4 separate regions of the Homo sapiens genome follow, and regions 1, 2 and 4 are each linked to region 3. The links are contacts of gene promoters, found by promoter capture Hi-C in blood cells and fetal thymus (Javierre and others, 2016). All regions are on one chromosome and are shown on one strand. The core of a region is centred on a gene start or on the middle of the fragment in contact, and the rest is flanking DNA. Distances in the headings are between cores, read along the strand shown. Region 1 holds the start of TRPV3 (transient receptor potential cation channel subfamily V member 3). Region 2 holds the start of NCBP3 (nuclear cap binding subunit 3). Region 3 has its middle 22 kb from the start of OR1D5. Region 4 holds the start of P2RX5 (purinergic receptor P2X 5).

What was found. Contacts are between HindIII fragments. The CHiCAGO score rates a contact against its expected background, and 5 or more counts as called.
Region 1: the fragment with the promoter of TRPV3 here is called in contact with a fragment that was not itself captured in region 3 in 2 of 17 cell types (M1 macrophages and M0 macrophages); the score reaches 6.8 in M1 macrophages.
Region 2: a contact is called between the fragment with the promoter of NCBP3 here and a fragment that was not itself captured in region 3, in 2 of 17 cell types (naive B cells and total B cells). The highest score is 5.3, in naive B cells.
Region 4: the fragment with the promoter of P2RX5 here is called in contact with a fragment that was not itself captured in region 3 in 5 of 17 cell types (endothelial precursors, M0 macrophages, M1 macrophages and 2 more); the score reaches 8.9 in endothelial precursors.

Annotation. Positions count from the first base shown.
Region 1 is chr17:3,556,562-3,559,683 of GRCh38, forward strand. It overlaps TRPV3 (transient receptor potential cation channel subfamily V member 3), which reads right to left and starts at 1,251. Exons shown (of 18, transcript NM_145068.4): 1 at 1,115-1,251. RefSeq lists a silencer at 210-269 and enhancers at 1,451-2,267, 1,910-1,969, 2,050-2,099, 2,130-2,359, 2,268-3,082 and 2 more. The HindIII fragment of the contact is 5,895 bases long and covers 30-3,122 here.
Region 2 is chr17:3,844,825-3,847,704 of GRCh38, forward strand. It overlaps NCBP3 (nuclear cap binding subunit 3), which reads right to left and starts at 1,422. Exons shown (of 13, transcript NM_001114118.3): 1 at 1,217-1,422. The coding sequence starts at 1,399. RefSeq lists silencers at 1,121-1,410, 1,591-1,710. The HindIII fragment of the contact is 12,990 bases long and covers 1-2,880 here.
Region 3 is chr17:3,039,916-3,042,985 of GRCh38, forward strand. No RefSeq gene overlaps it. Among named protein-coding and RNA genes, the nearest start is that of OR1D5, 22 kb to the right of the region's middle. The HindIII fragment of the contact is 162 bases long and covers 1,647-1,808 here.
Region 4 is chr17:3,694,855-3,697,729 of GRCh38, forward strand. P2RX5 (purinergic receptor P2X 5) reads right to left here and starts at 1,301. Exons shown (of 12, transcript NM_002561.4): 1 at 1,015-1,301. The coding sequence starts at 1,151. It overlaps P2RX5-TAX1BP3 (P2RX5-TAX1BP3 readthrough (NMD candidate)), which reads right to left and starts at 1,550. Exons shown (of 15, transcript NR_037928.1): 1 at 1,015-1,550. RefSeq lists enhancers at 372-888, 1,001-1,050 and a silencer at 1,171-1,530. The HindIII fragment of the contact is 7,185 bases long and covers 1-2,875 here.

The sequences.
Region 1 (3,122 bases), core at 1-2,500, 520 kb after region 3:
GGCCACTGGTGATCCTACCCCAATAGGAAAGCTTCCTGGAGGAAGTTTCCGGAGCCAGGTGTCATCAGGCTGGAGAGAGTCCCCCGCCCTCCAACTCAAAGGGAGCAGGCTCAGGATGGAGGAGGCATCGGCGAGGGAGAGCTTTGGCCCTGGAGCGTAGGCAACCTTGAGGCCAGGCAGGTGGAGTAGCCCACAGAGAGGGACTCCTGGGCACCCGGCCCTCCCGTGTCCAGTCACGGCCTGATGAGGATGGGCAGCCTCTATGGCTTTCCCCATCCCCACGTGGCCTTTGGTGGACTAAAAGGCTGGGATGCACCGAGCGTGAAGGAGACAGAAGAAGGGCACGTCTCTTGCCCCTCCCAGGGCCTCTGGTTTCCTTTCTGAGAAGTGGGCTGAATGGTCCCCAAGGACTCTGTGGCCCTGAGAGCTGGTTGCTCTCTCTCTTCTCTGGGCCCGAGAATGTGGCCTGCCCTGGGCCTCTGGGGCAGGAGAGGCTCAGGGAACTCTGGACTAGGGCCGCAGCAGCTATCATTAGCTCCCTGAGTCACCCCGTAAACCCCACGTTCTCACCTGCTGGACTCTCTTGTTGCCCTGGCCCTCCCTCTCTCTCCCAATCCCTGACACTGATTGAAATGGCCTTTCCCGGGCGACAGACCAGGCCGCGGAGCCACAGCTGCTGACTCAGCACCTGTGAGATGCCTGGGCCCCGTCTGTCTCCCACGGTGGGGCCACCTCCTCCCATCCTGAACTCCCATCACAATCCTGCCCCAGAAAGCCACCTCCCTGGGTCAGCCTCGGGAGGCAGGAGCCTCTCCTCTGCCCCCAGCAGTGGTGAGATTGAGATGTCCCTCCCCAGGATTCCCAAACCTCAGGGGAATGTTCCTGAGTCTGTAAGGACCTATATTCTCACACATCCCTACAGCCAAGAGTGCAGCCAAGAGTGCCTCCCTACAGCCAAGAGTGGGCCCCTGGCTGGGGCCCAAGCTCCTTCCAACCCTCCTCCCAAGGCCTATTGGCCAAGGGCAGACATGGCCCAGAGGACCTCTGAGGGCCACGCTCTGGGCTCCCCAGGGGCCTTGGAGATCACCAGCTGCCTTGTGCACAGAAGACTCACCTGGTGAGGTTCTGGGTGGTCGTGGCAACCCTTGCCCTGAGATCACCGCATGTCTGGGGCCCAAGGCCCCCGGGTGGGACTGTGGCTGAGGCGGCGGGAAGCTCTCATTGCAGGCAGAGGGATGGCTGGAATGAGGCGTCAGAGGCAGAACTGGCTGAGCCACCTGCCCTCGGCGCCAGGCAGGCCACGCCCACCAGCCACAGCTGCAGCACCCGCCCACCCACGTGGCCCGTGTGAGTCACCCCCACACCCACACAGCAGCCTCATCCCCACCGGAGAAAAGGCAGGGGAGGCCGCAGGTGCCAAGATCGAAGTTGTGGGTCCAACTCCTCCCTCTCTGGCATTCCATGCTGGGCAGGGACTGCCCATCTCAGGCCTATTTTTCCAACTAGGAAATGGGAATGATAACATCTACTTTCCAAGGGAGCCGTGAAGAGCCAAAGAGATCACAGAGGTGGGAGGGCCTAGTGAAGAGTCAAGCGCTCTGCTCTGTCCCCTGGGAGGGAAGACCGCAGCCCAGGCCTAGCCTGGTTGACCTCAGGGTGGCCAGCCCCAAGACTCGGCACTTGTTCTCAAAAGTCGGTTCCTGGGATCAGGTCTCTCGGGGACGGAAGTCCCCATTTAATGCTGTCCACCAGCAGTCACGCATCATGGCCCTTAGTGTCAGCCTCACCCCTTCCTGGCTGAATGACCTTAGCAGGTCATTTCTCCGAGCCTCAGTCTCCTCATCTGTGAAACGTGCTTCATAAACCCACTTTGCAAGGTTATCGTGGGGCTTCAACAAGTACAAGTAGAAAGGGCCAGAACAAGGCCCAGGGCACGGCAAGAACTCAATAAACAATGTCAGCTCTTAGCTATGATTGCTTTTGTCATCTCAATGTATTCTCCCAGCAACTGCCCAGGTTGCCCTTCTCCAAGGCCAGGGCGTCATAGAAGGAATCGGTGCCCTCTCTCCTGGCCCAGGCTGCAGCTGTGAAGTGGGTGGAGTGAGTCAGGATGGCCGTGTGTGTCTCGCGTCACTCAGGAACTGCACACCTGCTCCCCGGGGCGAGATGTGGACAAGACACAGCTGGGACAGAGCAGGAAGTCTCTGCTGACGCGGCCGCAGCTGGCGCCTGATGGGCAGGGAAATCCCCAGCTGTGAGCCTCTCAATCCCTCATCATCACAACCTGCCTGGCCTGGGGAGGAGGCAGGAGGCAGGTGAGGCTTCTAGGCCACGGGAGAGCAGGACCTATGGCCGGTAAGGGGCAGACCAGACTTGAGGGTGTGGGTGAAGCAGGAGACCGCTTCTGCCGTTGAAGTCAGGGGGTCCTGAAGTTCCCACTCACAATCTGAAATCTCATGACTGTGCCTGAAACTCGACCGGAAAAGCCCGATCTGGGGTTGAGCACGGCCTCCGGCCACTAGCTTACTCACCCTCTCCCGACCCAGCCCCGCGCCCTCCCTGTTTGCCTCTGGCGGCTCAGACGCCTGGGGAGGAAGCTGCTGCCAAATGTCAGTGCTTCCATTTTGCTCGTGTTCATAACTTTTCTCAGAGGGCAGGTGGGAGCTGGTGAAAAAGGCCCCTGTCTCCCACCCAGAGGTGTGCCCTGTGCCCAGCAAGGAAGAAGGGGACCCCCGCTCTGCTATGAGAGGCAGCAGGAGCCAGGTCACCCAGTGGAGTCACAGTCACTACTTAGGAAGCCCGAGCCCATCCTAATCCCACCCCAAACACACAGAAGCAGCAGCTTCAGCCCCTTAGATGGTCTATATTCAACCCCATTTAACCCAGCACATGGTGAGAGCCCACGGGAGAGGCCGTGGCAAGGGCGCAGGTGGACAACGAGGGATTCAGAACTGGAGAAGGCCGTGTCCACCCTCGTGGGCCACAGGGGACACAGGCTCAGGCAGGAACCATGACCCACCATGTGGGTCATCAGGACAAAATGGGCTGAGACCCCCAAGGCGGGAGGAAGTCCCTGTGATGGGGTGTAGGGGATGAGTTCGGGAAAGAGGGAGCATCTGCCT
Region 2 (2,880 bases), core at 172-2,671, 800 kb after region 3:
TCAGGAGGCTGAGGCAGGAGAATGGCTTGAACCCGGGAGGCGGAAGTTGCGGTGAGCCGAGATCGCGCCATTGCGTTCCAGCCTGGGCAACAAGAGCGAACTCCGTCTCAAAACAAAACAAAACAAAAACCATGTTGAACTGAATGACTAAAGGGATGATAACACCTGCTTCACAACTGCAGTAATATTTATTTATTTTGGTTTTGTTTTTGAGATGGGGAGAGGGGAAAGGGGGGACCTCAAAGGGGTCTTGCTATATTGCTGAGGCTGGTCTGGAACTTAGACTCCTGAATAGCTGGCACTAAAGGCGTGCACGGCCAGTATATTTAAGTGACACAATATAGTGAATGGTAAATGCTACTATATTAGCTGTTGTTAATCATAATTATAACGTTTGCCATCTCTAGCGATCATACTTTAACCTTTCTCCATAACTTCAGTCTAAATATGTTGACATGTGGTCAAAAGTAATTCATGTTAGGTGAGAAATTAAGAGGAGTCATCCAGGCCTGAAACCAGCTCTGAGAACTGGATATACAGCCACCAAGTCACAAGCAAAACACCTCTCACCATCCCCAGCGCGGTAAAGGAGGGACCAAGGATGTCTATTGGTCGTCTGCTAGTTTGCTTTCATTAAGAGTCAGATGCTGGGGCCACGGTGTAGGTGTCACTGGAGCTGCGGGGGGGGCAAGATGACCCCGAAGTCACGACAGAAACAGTGAGTTTCTGCTGCTGACAAGTGCAGCCCTCTCAAGACAAAGAGCGAGTGCCATGTTTCCCAGATACAAATTCCTCCGGGGCAAGACCCACAAGGAGACCTGGTTGCTGGCGCCACCCAACAGCTCCTTCTGGGCTGCCCCTGGTTCTGTTCCCGCCCAGGGCTCCCCCTTTATCTCATCCTTCCAGCCCCTCCTCACTCACCTCCTTGCACAGCGCGGCTCAGAGGGGGCAGCGGAGGGGGGTCCTCAACTCCCTCCCAGCTCTCCGCCACCACCCCCCAGCCCCCTCAACACCCATTTCCGGCGCCCCGGCGTCCTTTCTCCCGCTCCGCGTCCCTCCTCCAGCCCGGCGTTCCCGTTCCCAGGACGCTGGCTCCCTCCTCTCCCGCTCCCTTGACTTCCCCGGCTGGGGCTCCGGCCACCGCCCCTTCCGGCCCCCTCCGGCGCTAGACACTAGCCCCGCGACCTCTTCCTTACCCCCCGACCCCCGCCCGTACCGGGATCAGTTCCTTGAGCGAGCGCCGCACAGGCACGATTTCCAGCTCGCCCTCCTCCACCTCCATGGGCTCCGGCTCGCCACGGTCAACACCGGACTCCGCCTCAGGGGACGGGAGCCCCAGGGCCGGCCCCGCCGGGGCCTCCGCCTTCACCGACACCCGCAGGCCCCGTACGGCCGCCATCGCTGCCTGCCGGCCGCACCACTGAGAGCCCGCCCCTCACGGCCGCCGGCTAGAGCGCCGCTGCCACTGGCCACAGAGGAGCCGCCGCAGCTACCTAGAGCGTCGCCGGCTTCGGCCCAGAAGGCCGCCCTTAGCGCCGCCGCCCCCTGGTGGCGGGAGAAAACCGGGCCGGCTGCGCGGGCGGGACCTGGGGAGGAGAAGGCGGGACTGAGCGGGGACGGGGGCGGGGCCTGCGGGAACTACGGAGCTTGGAGGAGACCGGGGTAGTCAAGGGTTACAATGTAGCTACGCCTTGAGGCTAAAGCTGTACTAAAAGCCAACTTTCCTGAGTGATCACTATGGGCCAGACACTTCCAAGCGCTCGAACCCTTAGAACAACTCTATGAAGTAGATCCTATTTTGACCCCCATTTCATATATGAGGAAACTGAGGCATAGAAATTGACCCAAGGTGACGCCATTTAAGGGATAAAAGCTGGATCTAAGTCTTCCAGAGTTTACAATGAGCCTTGATATATCACCTCTGGACAATCTGTAGGTTTATAAAGTTACTTGCCTTGCCAGTCTTTGTCTCTTAAAAGTCTCCCCAAAATTGGCCCATGTTACATACACAAAAATTGAGACTCCAAGAGGGAGAGACCTGCCCAAAGGCCAGAACTTGGACGCCGATTTCCTGACTCCTGAGGGTGCCATCCACTGTAGACCTGTGAGCATAGTTTCCGGCGGATATTTCTAACGAGAGCCTGGTGGGGGAGAGGGGTTGTCTACGCGTCCCGAGGGTGTCACTGATCAGCTGCTGTTCTGAGTCCTGATTTTCTTTTTCTTTCTTTCTTTCTTTCTTTATTCCTTTCTTCCTTCCTTTCTTTCTTCTTTTCTTTCTTTCTCTTTTCCTTCCTTCCTCCCTCTCCTCTTTCTTTCTTTCTTTCTTTTTTTTTTTTTTTTTTGTAGAGACAGGGTTTCACCATGTTGACTAAGCTGGTCTCGAATTCCTAACCTCAAGCGATCCACCCGCCTCGGCCTCCCAAAGTCTTGGGATTACAGGCATGAGCCACCGCGCCCGGCCTGAGTCCTGATTTTGCATCTTCCTCCCTGGGTAACCTTGGACAGGTTTTTGGGTCTGTTTTCCCATCTGAGGAGGGCATAGGTGAGACCCTACAGTCTCTGAGGCCCTGAGGCCCTACCAGCTCTGACCATGGAGGAGCAAATAATGATAAACCAAGGAAGAGCATGGTCAGCATCAGACACACCTGGGTTTCGAGCTGGCTGGCCGGGCCCCATCCACCATGTGTGACCTTAGGCAAGCTGCTTAGCACTTTGGAGTCTCAGTTCCTTCATCAGTAAAATGGACCATTACCTACCTACAAAGGAGGTTGTGAGGGTTAAATGTGATAATTTATATGTAGATACAGGGTCCAACAGAAGGGGTGCAGTACATCACAGTTTTTCTTAAATTTGGGCTAAACCACAGGATAAACACAAGAC
Region 3 (3,070 bases), core at 478-2,977:
CACACAACATGGCACTTCCTAAACATACACCATGGGAGATGGTGCAACCACAGGGCTTATGGCAAACAATGGGGTTAGGGACGTAACACTCAAACACTTTGTCAGTGACGTAAAAATAAAAAGACAGGAACTTGATAACAATTTTACACGTGTTAAATGATTGAGAAATACATAAGGGCTACAATAAAGGCAGTTTAGCTTTAATAAGATGGGAAGTTTGCTTGTGGAATCGGTTGTTGGCAGGTTGTGAAGCGGTGGAAAGAGAGCTTTTCTGAAATTGGATGGACAGTAACAGCAGAGGTGGATGGGTATGGCCCCCGGCACATGGTGTATTGAGGCAGCTGGCAGATGTTGGAGGTGTATGTGTATTTTGTGTGTCCCTGTGCAGCTTGATTTAGCTGGCTGCCGGTTTTGGCACTCACCTAATATTTCTCATGGATGAGGAGCGTAAGCTAAAGGGCAACTTCCATGATACTCCGATTGTTTCCTATTATATCAACTACATTGGACTCCATTTCCATTTTCAACACAACTGCCGTAGCAGAACTCACTTTTTTTTTTTTTTTTTGAGATGGAGTCTCACTCTGTCGCCCAGGCTGGAGTGCAGTGGCACAATCTCAGCTCACTGCAACCTCTGCCTCCCAGGTTCAAGCAATTCTCCTGCCTCAGCCTCCCCGGTAGCTGGGACTACAGGCATGTGCCACCACGCCCAGCTAATTTTTTGTATTTTTAGTAGAGACGGGGTTTTACCAAGTTGGCCAGGCTGGTCTCGAACTCCTGACCTCAGGTAATCCGCCTGCCTCGGCCTCCCAAAGCACTGGGATGACAGGTGTGAGCCACTGCCCCAGCCCAGAACTCACAATGATCATCTAATTTAGTCATCTGAAAAGCCCACGAAGGCATGTATTATTCCCGTTTCACTTAAGGGATCAGTTTCAAATTTCAGTTTGGGATCCAAATCTCATATGCTGAGCTCAATATGAAAGGAAGTTCCAGACTTGGAAGGTTCTAGATGCACAGAAATGTATCAGGAAAAGTGCATCCTGGCTCTCTCTGGTTTCCCTGCCCAGCTTGGAGCCCCTGTCCTGGAACCCATGTGTCCAGCATCCCACGCTTCTGCCATCATGCTGTGCCAAGTGGTGCCTGTCTGAGCCCACGGTTACAGATGTCTTATTTCTCGGGTGTTAGATTCCACCTGTTGAGTCCCCTTGGCTGCAAGTCAAGCTTCATCTTTCACACAAACTCTCTGTGCCCATCTGTACCTCACGGTTCGGCTGCTTCCTGGGTTCAACCCTTCCTCCCAGAAAATGTGAGGTTACCTATATCTGGACACTTTGTGGAGGTGGAACATGTCCTGTCTCTGTGGGAAATGTAGGAGGCATGGAAGTCATCAGCTATGCTGGTCGGTATTGTCCCTCCAAGCCTGCAGGCTCTCCTAGGGTTCTGAAAGCTCCCTGATCGGTCTAGGTGTCTGTGGTCAGGTGTTCTTTCTCCCGAGGTGGGCACGCCTCCAGGTTGGGGCTCAGTTTTAGGACTCTTAAAATCTGTTTTTTCCACTCAGCGTCTAACAGCTTGTAGCAGTCACTGGACATTTTGGGGGTGGGGGTGGGGGTGGGGGCACTGTTTTGCCTGCTCCGTGGGGGAAAAGCTTTCATGAGGAGTCTGGTCAGCCCGCGCTCAGATTTTCCCTCAGTCTCGTTTTTGGAGTGCTCCCTGTGTCCAGCCATGCCCTCTCCCACATGCGCTCTGACCAACCTTCGGTGTCCCCTGGTTCTATTCTAACAACAACATTGCGGTCCAGTTCCCTAAGCTTGCAGTGATCCTCAGTTAATACAACAGTTATTACAACAGTCTCTTGTGTGTTCAGACGCAGCCCTGTTTGTGGTAAACTTCACATTCCACGCAAAGCCCTTCTCACCCATTTCCTGGGGTGGGCAAGCCTGGTGGGTACAGATCTTGGCTTGGGACGTGGCAAAGACGCCCTCCTTGACCGTACTTCAGTCAGGATCCTCTGGCCGTCTCTTCAATGAGGCCTCACACTCGACCTGTCCTTGGTTTGCCAAGGCAGTTTTAGCAAAGAATCTTATAAACCAGTGTGAATATCGCCCTGCCCTTGATATTTGATCAAGTTGCTCGTCCCCCACCCTTGATACCTAGGCTCCTCTTAGTAATTTCCCATCTAAGGAAACTCCTCACTCTGCCCATCGGCTATAAATCTGCAACTGTCCCTGACGTGTCAAAGTTGAGTTCAGTCTTTGTCCCCTTTGCAGTAGTCTTGAGTAAAATCTTCCTTGCCTATTTAACTCTGTCTGGTGTGATTTTTCTTTGACAAATGGCTGGTCAGTTCTCACACCAGTGCCCCTCTTTGTCCTGGTGTGGTAGGGTGGGGTGCAGAAGGGCCAAAGGGGCATCTCATTTTGATACTGCCCCAGGGGAGAGCGCTGGTGAGTCTGGGGAGTCTGAGAAGCAGACACCAAGACAGCGTCAACAAATTATTAGGAGAAGGGCCTGTGAGTGAAAACGGAGGAGGTGGGATATGGAGGAGGCTGGAAAAGCTGTCAGGCTGTGATGCAGGTCTGACCCTGCACGGAGGAGAGATGGGAGTGAGGGAGGTTGCGTGAAGGCCTCTTAGATGGGGTGCAGTTCTAAGGAAAGTTCAGGGCTGGGCACGGTGGCTCACGCCTGTAATCCCAGCACTTTGGGAGGCCGAGACGGGTGGATCACAAGGTCAAGAGTTCAAGACCAGCATGGCCAAGATGGTGAAACCCCGTCTCTACTAAAAATACAAAAATTAGCTGGGCGTGGTGGCGGGAGCCTGTAATCCCAGCTACTCGGGAGGCTGAGGCAGAGAATTGCTTGAACCCAGGAGGTGGAGGTTGCAGTGAGCCGAGATCGCACCACTGCACTCCAGCCTGGGTGACAGAGCGAGACTCTATCTCAGAAAAGAAAAAAAAAAAAAAAAAAAAAAAAGGATGAGTTGATGAGTGACTCCATCGAGTGAAATAATAACACAAAGCAGCTCATATCAAAGGACTAATAAAAACAAACTGCAACATAACCAGCTCCACAT
Region 4 (2,875 bases), core at 51-2,550, 650 kb after region 3:
GCCAGGGAGGAAGGGAGAGGGAGTTACTGGAAAGCCCAGATCTGGGGGCTGAGTGGATGCTAAGGGAGTGGAGGAGGACGGGCAGGCCTGGCTGAGCAACAGCACAGCGCCTACGAGGCCGCTCAGGTGGGAGGCGGCCAGGGGCCTGGGGATGCAGCTCAGAGAACGCGGACTGCTGGACCTCCGAGGGAGAGCCAGGCGTCAGGGCTGCCCTCCCAGGAGGAAGCAGGAGGAACTCCACCGCATTTACTGAACGAGTGGAATGAGGCGCATCCCCATTGTCCAGCGCTGCTTCTCCCCTCCACCTGCTCACCCCCGACCCACCCCGGGGTCAGGGCTCTGAAGGCGCCTGGCAGAGCAGCCTCCACAAGTTGCCTCTTTGGCTTTGTGGCGCCAGCTCCTGCCAGGTGGCATGAGGATGGGGGAAGGGGATGGCCGAGCTGGGTGCAGAGATAGAGGCCTCTGGGCAGGACCCCCAGCTGGACACCAGAGAGGCTGGCCGCGGGTGGGGCAAGTTGACCGGAAGGGAGCTCAGGAACATGCCGGGCTGATGAGTTTCTCCAGCTCTGAGTAGGCAGTGACACCCTGTGATTATAAATAACCTGCCGGCGCCTGGGTCAGCTGCCAGGCCAAGGCCCAGGGAGGCTCCTGGGGCGACAGCTGCCACCCAGCCCCCTGGCATCCCTGCCCCCTTCCCATGGCCCTAACACGTGGGGACCCGACTCTGGGAGAAGCAGCTGCAGGGAAAGCCTGATAAATCGAGGAAACCAGAAGGCCCCTGCCCACCTCTCATCACCTCTAGCGCCAGTGGGGGAGTGGAGAGCCCCCTCTCTACACCCTACTCCTACACCCAAGGACCCAAAGAGGACCCCCACAGCAAGCAGGCTCACAGACCCCCAGCTACCGGGAAAACCGCGTGCACGCCTGCGAATTCCAGGACCCTGGAGAAGGACGCGGCGGCTGGCACCCGCCCTGCCCCTCCCCCGCCTTCCCAAAAGTCCGCGGAGAACTTACACGACCAGGTACGCCAGGATGGAGGCCTGCAGCAGCCGGTACAGCAGGCCCACCTTCTTGTTCTTGGCGATGACATACTTCTCGGTCTTGTAGTCGAACAGCGACAGGCAGAGCCCCTTGCAGCCCGCCTGCCCCATGGCGCGCTCTCAGCCGGGCTTGCGGACCGCCCGGCCCACGTGCGCTCATGGGGAGCACTCGGTCCCTCGGTCCCTGCGCGCCCGGCGCCCGCCTCGGCCCGTCTGCGCCCGCTCAGCTGCAGCCCGGGGTGTCCGGCAGGGCTGCGGGGCGCGGGGGCGGGTCGGGGCGGCCTTTTATTGACGCGGTTGAGAAAGCCTCGGCTGGGAGCTGGGCGGCGGCGAGCACCGGAACCTCAGACCGCGACCTTGCCGCTACCTCTTCTTCCTCCTCCTCCTCCTCCTCCCCTGACACAGTGACACCCCTGCAACCTACTCCCCAGCCACCGGTCTGGGAGCGCAGCCCCCCGGATGCGCAGGACCGCCCTGTGCTGTTGCCCAGCTGAAAGCAGCGATCGCGGAGGAGAGGAAGTGAAAGGGGGAAGGGCTCCTTTTTATTTTATTTTAAATTTATTTATTCATTTATTTTTGAGACGGAGCCTCGCTCTGTCGCCGAGGCTGGAGTGCAGTGGTGCGATCTCAGCTCACTGCTACCTCCGCCTCCCGGGTTCAAGCGATTCTCCTGCCTCAGCCTCCCAAGTAGCTGGGACTACAGGCGTGATAATTTTTGTATTTTTAGTAGAGACGGGGTTTCACCATGTTGGCCAGGCTGGTCTTGAACTCCTGACCTCAGGTGATCCGCCCACCTCGGCCTCCCAAAGTGCTGGGATTACAGGCGTGAGCCACCGCGCACGGCCGGGAAGAGCTCCGTTTAAAGCAAAACTCCCCTTTCTCTCGCAAAGAAATCCCAAAGGGTTCTTCCTATTGAATAGATGGGGAACTGAGGCCAGGGGAGGAAGGAAGGGGACACAACAGGTTTCTCCATTCACCTCGCGCCAGGTCTCCTGCCAGGGAGATACATTCTTGCTCCGTGGGCAGGGGGTGGTTGTGGGGGGGAAGCCGTGGCTCCCCCACAGGCTGGAAGAGACAAGACTTGTCCCACCTGAGGCTGCCTGTGTCTGCTGCGACTAATGCGCGTTTCTACTGCAGCAGCTGCTGCAGGTTTAAAAGCCCACACTCCGGCGGAGTCGGTGGTCAGGCAGGTCCCGAGTGCCGGCAGCATGAAGACCTCCCTCCCACACTCAGGGCGGATGGTGCGGGGGTGGGGGGCAGACGGGGTGGGGGCGGGGAGACACAGGCAACCCACCCTAGGATCCTAAAAATATGCCTGGAGAGTGCGCATGTACCAACTGTTTGGAATGGTTCCCAACGCACAAGAAATAGAACTGATCCATGCAGCTATGACTGCAACCCTCTCAGTATGTGGAATTCAACAGGAGTGGGAGTGGGATGAGGGAGGGCCTCCGGGGGGGCAGGTTTAGAACTCCTGACAGCCAAAGACGCAGGGCCCTGGGTGAGCGCGGTGTGGTGAGGAGCTGCGCACGCTTATTTTCTGCATCCTGCAGTCTGACCACAAGCAGTCCTGCTCCTCTCCCTACCCCTGGCTTTCACACACAAAGAGGCTCCCTTCCCTAAGCCACAGACTCGGGGAACTGGAAGGTACCCTGAAATTCATCAGTGTGATTCTAAAGTAAAAGCCCCAAGGAAGGTGTCCAGTTTCAAAGTGCATGGGAATCATGTGGAAGAAAAAAAGGCAAATTCCTAGGCCCTGCCCCTCAAATTTTCATTCACGAAATCTAAGATGGGGCTGGGAACCTGTATTTTGCTCTCAAACTGTCATTTGGGAA